Regions from separate parts of the Homo sapiens genome. Here region 1 is linked to region 2. The links are contacts of gene promoters, found by promoter capture Hi-C in human tissues and cell types (Jung and others, 2019). All regions are on one chromosome and are shown on one strand. Each heading gives the region's core, a stretch centred on a gene start or on the middle of the fragment in contact. The rest is flanking DNA. Distances are from core to core; before and after follow the strand shown.

What was found. Contacts are between HindIII fragments. The study calls those that stand out against the background at their distance.
Region 1: the fragment with the promoter of GPATCH1 here is called in contact with the fragment with the promoter of LSM14A in region 2 in 1 of the 25 tissues and cell types used here (dorsolateral prefrontal cortex).

The regions. Positions count from the first base shown.
Region 1 is chr19:33,079,313-33,083,133 of GRCh38, reverse strand. GPATCH1 (G-patch domain containing 1) reads right to left here and starts at 1,953. Exons shown (of 20, transcript NM_018025.3): 1 at 1,868-1,953. The coding sequence starts at 1,940. RefSeq lists enhancers at 1-93, 1,729-2,058. The HindIII fragment of the contact is 22,582 bases long and covers 1-3,821 here.
Region 2 is chr19:34,170,075-34,173,885 of GRCh38, reverse strand. LSM14A (LSM14A mRNA processing body assembly factor) reads right to left here and starts at 1,382. Exons shown (of 10, transcript NM_015578.4): 1 at 1,123-1,382. The coding sequence starts at 1,243. The HindIII fragment of the contact is 14,704 bases long and covers 1-3,811 here.

The sequences.
Region 1 (3,821 bases), core at 704-3,203, 1.1 Mb after region 2:
TAGCTGGGACTACATGAGCCCCCCCCCACCACGCCCAGCTAATTTTTTTTTGTATTTTTAGTAGAGACGGGGTTTCACCGTGTTAGCCAGGATGGTTAGGATCTTCTGAATTCGCGATCTGCCCGCCTCGGCCTCCCAAAGTGCTGGGATTACAGGCGTGAGCCACCACGCCCGGCCTCATCTCTATTTTTAAAATAAAAAATGTTGGGCACTGTGGCTCATGCATGCAATCCAGCACTTTGGGAAGCCAAGGTGAGAGCATCGCTTGAGGTCAGGAGTTTGAAACCAGCATGGTCAACACAGCAAGACCCTGTCTCTATAAAAAAAGAACTTGGGATAGTGAGTGTAGAACAGAGATGTCTTAAGAAAATGCAACAGCTGACTTCAAACACATAAAAAGCATTCGGAAGACTAGCCTTTCTCAGCCTTTTGTTTCGTTTGTTTGTTTGTTTGTTACAGACAGAGTCTCACTACAATGCCCAGGCTGGTCTCAAACTCCTGACCTCAAGCAATCCTCCCACCTCAGCCTCCCAGAGTGCTGGGATTACAGGTGTGAACCACTGTGCCTGGCCCCTTTCTCAACCTTTTGTAAGCCGAGGGTAGAAGAAGGGCCAGTATCCAGCAGAAGTTTCCACCAGAACTGTTTGTAGGAAATAAAGGGGGCATAAGTGGAGATATCCCAGAAGTACAATCAACCTGGCAGGATGTGGTCAGGGTGAAAAAAGGGAGGGGACCCCCACCAACAGGAGGTCTGCAAATAAATTGTGGCCCAATGATTCCACCATTCTTCCTCTGCCTTCCCTACAGGGCTAGCACAGCCAACAGCCCTTACTGGACACTCAATACATAACTTGCTGAACAAGTCAAGTCGTTAAGTGGAACAGACCAGAAACACAGGAGAGAACCTTGATTCATCTTGCCCCTCACCCCCACATTCCACCAGCAAGTATGGTCAGCTCTGCTTTCAAAATATATCTCCACCCAGACCACTACACACCACCACCACTGCTGTCCCATCCATGCCACCATCATCTCCTGACCTCTTTTTGCTAATCTCCCTGCTTCACTCTTACCCATCCCCAACCAGTGTATTCTCAACATCAAAGATAGAATAACATTAAAAATTGGCCGAGCACAGTGGCTCAAGCCTGTAATCCCTGCACTTTGGGAGGCAGAAGCGAGAGGATCACTTGAAGTCAGGAGTTCAAGACCAGCCTGGGAAACAGAGCAAAACCCTGTCTCTAAAAATCATATATATATCCCTCCCTGTGTAATTTCCCATGACCCTAACCCTAACCCTAATCCTGCACTTAGTACAAGATCCAAACTCTTTACCCTACCAAGTAAGATCCAGCCCCTGTCAGCCCCTCTGACATTCTTTTCTACCTGTCTCCCCCGCTGTCATCTGCTGCAACCATACCCGTCCTGCCTGCCCCTCAATTTCCTAAACTGGCTCCCACTTCAGGGCCTTTGCCACTTTATGTTCCTTCTGCCTGAAATGCTTTCCCTCCAGATTTGCTCATGGTTGTTTTCTTCCTCGGTTTCAAGTCTGAGCTCAAACGTCCTCTCTCGGGGAAGACACTGCCTGAGCACCCCCCGCTCTCACACTAGCTATTCCGTCATTTTCTTGTTTCTATCTCGCCGCCCCCTTGTTCGGCCACGCTTGTGTCTCCCGTCCCTGTAAACCTCTCTCTGTCGCTGCAGAAGGTGAGCACCCCGAGAGCGCGGCTAACGCCTCCCTCGTCGCCGTGTTCCCAGCGCTGGGAACGATCTAACAATGGTCCAGCACCGACTTGTGCTTTTGTGGCCCGAATCCTGGGCCCTTGGCCTGTTTTCCACAGGCTCCGCCGGCCCACGCGGCCCGCACCTTCTTCCAGAGGCTCCAGCCCGGTCCCATAGCTGACCAGATCTTCTTCGCTGTCACTGTCCCGCGCCGCCATCCTGCTCTTCCGGGCCCCGCCCCCTCGCTACGGCGGCCTTGGCAGGCCAAACGCCTTTCCTCTTTCTCCTCCGCGAACCCCGGTGATGCTGGAAGGCTGGGTCCGCGGGCGGGGGAAGGTGTCCTAGCGGCCCGAGCCTGCGCTCCGGATTCTCAGGCCCATCCTGTGGTAGGCCGTCCCAGGCAGGAGTTGCCTCGGAGGATTTGGCAGCCACGACATCCCATCCTAGCCCCGCGATGTGCGGGTGAGGAGGAGACTCCTGGCATAAGCTGGAAGCCACCCAACTGTTCCCTGCGAGGCGACACCGATGCCTGCCCAGCCCCCTACCCCCGTCCCTCGCGCCAGCCCCCTGCCTTGGCAGCAGTCACTGCCCAGCCCCGTCCACTCCCACCGCCCACCCAGCCACCTCCAGGGAAATGGCTGAGCTCCCAGATTTCATGCTCGCCCCGTGGGGCTTCGCTTTATTTTTATTATTATTATTTTTTACTTTTATTTTGGGTTCAGGGGTACATGTGCAAGTTTGTTATATAGGTAAATTGCATGTCGCAAGGGATTTGGGTTACAGATTATTTCCTCCCCAGGTAATAAGCATAGTACCCAATAGGTAGTTTTTCCGATCCTCACCCTCCTCGTACCTTCCACCCTCAAGTAGGTCCACCCTCAAGTAGGCCCTGGTGTTATTCCCTTTTTTTTTTTTTTTTTTTTTGAGACAGAGTCTCGCTCTGTCGCCCAGGCTGGAGTGCAGTGGCCGCGATCTCAGCTCACTGCAACCTCCGCCTCCCAGATTCAAGTGATTCTCCTGCCTCAGCCTCCTGATAGCTGGGATTATAAGCGTCCACCCCACCACGCCCTGCTAAATTTTTGTTTGTTTGGTTGGTTGGTTGTTGTGGTGGTTTTTTTTTTTTTTTTCTTGAGACAGAGTTTCACTCTTGTTGCCCAGGCTGGAGTGCAATGGCACGATCTCGGCTCACCTCAACCTCCGCCTCCCGGGTTCAAGCGATTCTCCTGCCTCAGCCTCCCTAGTAGGTGGGATTACAGGCATGCACCACTATGTCTGGCTAATTTTGTAATTTTTTTTTTAGTAGAGACGGGGTTTGTCCATGTTGGTCAGGCTGGTCTCGAACTCCCCACCTCAGGCGATCCATCCACCTTGGCCTCCCAAAGTGCTGGGATTACAGATGTGAGCCACCGCACCCGGCCATTTTTTTTTTTTTTTTTTTTTTTTTTTGTATTTTTAGTAGAGACTGGGTTTCACCATGTTGGCCAGGCTGGTCTTGAACTCCTGACCTCAAGTGATCCACCCGCCTCGGCCTCCCAAAATGCTGGTATTACAGGCGTGAGCCACTGCGCCTGGCACCTGTCATTCCCTTCTTTATGTCCATGTGTGCTCAATGTTTAGCTCCCACTTATACGTGAGAACATGCAGTATTTGGTTTTCTGTTCCTGCATTAGTTTGTTTAGGATAATGGCCTCCAGCTGCATCTATGTTGCTGCAAAGGACATGGTCTTGTTGTTTCTTTTTTTTTTTTTTTTTGAGACGGAGTTCGCTCTGTCCCCCAGGCACGCCATTCTCTTGCCTCAGCCTCCCGAGTAGCTGGCACTACAGGCGCCTGCCACCACACCCAGCTAATTTTTTGTATTTTTAGTAGAGGCGGGGTTTCACCGTGTTAACCAGGATGGTCTCGATCTCCTGACCTCGTGATCCGCCCATCTTAGCCTCCCAAAGTGCTGGGATTACAGGCATGAGCCACCACGCCTGGCCAGTCTTGTTCTTTTTTTATGGCTGTGTAGTGTTCCATGGTGTATGTGGACCATATTTTCTTTATCCAGTCCACCATTTGTGGGCATGTAGGTTGGTTCCATGTCTCTGCTATTGTGAGT
Region 2 (3,811 bases), core at 133-2,632:
AACCACTCCCCTATCTGTTAACGATTTTTAAAATTTTACAGATTTCGAAAATCTTCTTCTTTATCCTTGGACCTAACCTATCCACAGGGTCCCTAACCATGCTATGCAGTTCCCACCTCTACCAGAAGTGCTGGGAAAATCACCTAGGTTATCTAGCTTCCCTCAAAGTATTTTACACTGTTGTGAGATTTCCTTTAAGATTCAGGAGCTAAAGTTTATTTTCTTTCTGGTTTCCTGGCGGAGCAAAGGCCCTGCACGTGTGAACGGAAACAAAACCCACACAGACTCTAGGGATGCCAAATATTAACACTGTGGGTAGGGGCACCTTCCTTCTCGGCCGAATTCCCTTTCCCAGAGAGCCTCCAGAGGGATCAGTCAACGCCCACTGAGCCTGGATCAAAGGTCAAGCTTGCCTGGTCAAGAAGGATCCTGGATCAAGCTTGAACCCGTTTCCAGAAACAGGGGCGTCGGGGCAGCAGCAAGCATTTTTACCACGCGCCCTAATGAGGTGGTTGCACAACAGGCTTTGAGGATTCCGGTTTAACAGGTAAATACCAACAGAGGATGAGCCGAGGGAGATGGGATCTGCTCCACGGCATCGATGGCATTTCGAGAATGTCTGCGTCGCAGAGCAAACCCAAAGTTTTAGCACATTACTCAAGAGTTCACCAGAGGAAGATCGCCACGAATTGAAATGAACAAAGTGAGAAAATGGGTGCTGTGTAGTCAACGCATCCGCGATGAACTCAAGCTGGGCGGAAAAATTCTTTGAATACTCCGGCTTTGTTTTGTGCTAAGACGGCAGAAGCCCCGAATTTCGGAGTTGGAAGACGCGTTTCTCCGTGTTCTCCGGCCCGTTCTCGGACTTCAGGGCCGCCCGCCGCGCACTCAGTCCCGTAGTTCCCCGGGCTTCAGGCGCGGACATTCCGGGGGGCGGAAACCAGGGAGCCGCGGGGAGGCCGCGGTCCGGCCCGCGACGCCGGGGCCCGGAGAAGGGAGGCGAGAGGCCTCCCGGAGCTCGACGGAGGGAGGGGAGGGAACGAGGAGGCCGCGGGCCGGAGCGGGGAGCAGCCCCGAGCGGCGCCCGGCTCGGCCCCCACCCTGAGGCCCGGTCCCGCGTACCTTTGGCAAGGGCTACGGTGGAGTTTTCGGTGTCGATGGTGTAGAGGATGCCCTCGTAGCGGATCTCCGCCTTGGAGATGAGGCTGATCTTGCTGCCGATGTAAGGGGTGCCCCCGCTCATGGCGCCGCCGCCGCCGCTCCCAGCTGCTCGCAGAGAGGCAGATCCCACGCCACTGTCGCCCGCTCCGCACGCCCGCTCGCTCCGTCGGCGCCTACAGCAGCCGCTTCAGACCCAACATGGCGGCGGCGCCGGCTCCGCTACCCTCCCCCAGCCTCCCGCCCTCAAGCCGCGGCGCGGCGGCGGCGGCGGCGGCGGCAGCGGCGGCGGCGCGGGGCATGCTGGGAGGGCGAGGCCGCGCTCTCGCGAGACTTGGCCGGCTACTGGTGGCTCCCGGCTCATTCGTGGCCTCGGGAGTCCCGGCAGCGCTTGTTGGCCTGGACTACGGTGGTGGTCTTGGGGCCGCGTGAGAGGAACTTCGGGGACCGGCTGAGTGCCTCGTGGCACCCGCTTGCTGCGGGCTGGAGAGGAGGCGCGCGGCCTTCCTTTTGACTCAGGCCGTGGCCGCCTTGTCGTGGGTCCTGTGTCTTTGCCGACGCGGGGCCCTCGGCCTGGAGCGCTGCCCACCCGCCTCCGAGCTGTGGCGAGCCGCTGCTCATCCTTCTAAGACGCTGAACCTGCACCTCGTGGAGCTCCTACGGCTCCATTACCGCAGTCATCGCCCGGGGAGCTTCCCCCGAGGCTGCCCCTGGAGCTGGGGCTCTCACAAGGACTCAAGTGTTTCAGCCCCTTCCTGTCCCGCTCATTCAGCCGGTCTGAACCAGTTTCATGGCTTGCAACGCCATTGTAACTCACTAATCCCAATTATCAGTATGTAGCTTGGATCAATTCCGTGAACCAGGGTTTCTGTCGAATCTCAAACGTTAAGGGTCCAAAGCCATGCTCCCTGTTTCCCCTCTAACCTGCTCCTTCACCACCGTTCCCTATTTGATGTAAACGGTACCATTTTTACTCAGCTGCTCAGACTAAAAGCCGTGAGTCAGCCTTGCCCTGTCTTGCTTCCACATCTGTTCTGACTACACCTCTCCGTTATGTATACACAATATATCCTAAATCTGACTTCTCATCTCCATTCCTACACTTCTCCCACAAGCCACGATTACTCGGGCTGAATTATTGCAGTAGCCTTCTAAAAGTTGCCTCTGTGTCAACTCTTGCCCCCAGTACTTTATTCTCAATACAGCAGCCAGAGAGATCTTCTTAAAATCTAACTCAGGGCTGGGCGCAGTGGCTCACGCCTGTACTCCCAGTACTTTGGGGGCCCGAGGCGGGCGCATCACCGGTCAGGAGTTCGAGACCAGCCTGGCCAACATGGTGAAACCCCGTCTCTACTAAAAATATAAAAAAATTAGCCAGGCGTGGTGGCGCGCGCCTATAGTCTCAGCTACTTGGGAGGCTGAGGCAGGAGAATTGCTTGAACCCAGGAGGCGGAGGTTGTGGTGAGCCGAGATTGTGCCACTGCACTCCAGCCTGGGCGACAGAGCGAGACTCCGTCTCAAAAAAAAAAAAAAAAATCTAACTCAGATCATGTCCTTCCTCTACTCACTCTACTGATCCCATGTTACACAGAGAGAAAACCAGACTTTGGTGTCTAAGGATATACATGATTTAGCTTCTCGTTCTGTTCCAGTCGCGTCTAATTCAACCAGTACTTGAGCACTTTATTCCAGTCTCTGCTCAAGCATCACCTCCAGAGATGACGTCCCTGACAGCCTTGTTTAAAATAATACCACTCATCTCCTTAACTCAGCTTGTATTTTCTTTATAGCATGTATCTCTCTCAAGTATGTCTGTTTAATTATTTGTATGTATCTGTCTCCTTCACTAGAATGTAAACATTTTGAGATAGTGATGTTGTTTTGGTTGCTGCCGTATCATCAGGGGCCTAGTAACAGCACGTGGCTCAGGGCAGCTGCTCAGTTAATATTTGCTGCATGAATGAACAGCAGGATGAAGGCAGAGCACAGGCAGGACGGTGAGCTGAGTGAGCAAATGGCGAGAAGCCTGGCATCATAAGAGAGGGACACAGGAGAGAGACAGAGCTCTGATGGGGCTGGTGCACAGTGGCTACAAAGAAAGGTTTGGAAATCCCTGTTTCAGTACAAGGTCCATGCGAGGAAGTTGAATTATTTGTTTTTGTTTTTTTGAGACAGTCTCACTCTGTCACTCGGGATGGAGTGCAATGGTGCCATCTCGGCTCACTGCAACCTCTGTCTCCTCTGTTCAAGCGATTCTCCTGCCTCAGCCTCCCGAGTAGCTGGGATTACAGGCGCATGCCACCACGCCTGACTGATTTTTTGTATTTTTAGTAGAGATGGGTTTCACCATGTTGGCCAGGCTGGTCTTGAACTCCTGGCCTCAAGTGTTCACCTGCCTTGGCCTCCCAAAGTGCTGGGATTACAGGCGTGAGCCACCGTGCCCGGAAATTCTTTCAAGGCTAAATAATATCCCTTTGTATGGACATACCATATTTTGTTTATCCATTTATCAGTTGATGAACATTTGGGTTGTTTTCACTTCTGCTATTATAAATATCCATGAGTACCTCTATGAACAAGTTTTTGTGGGAACATGTGTTTTCAATCCTCCTAAGAATGAAGTAGTTGAGCCATATGGTAACTCAGAGTTTAA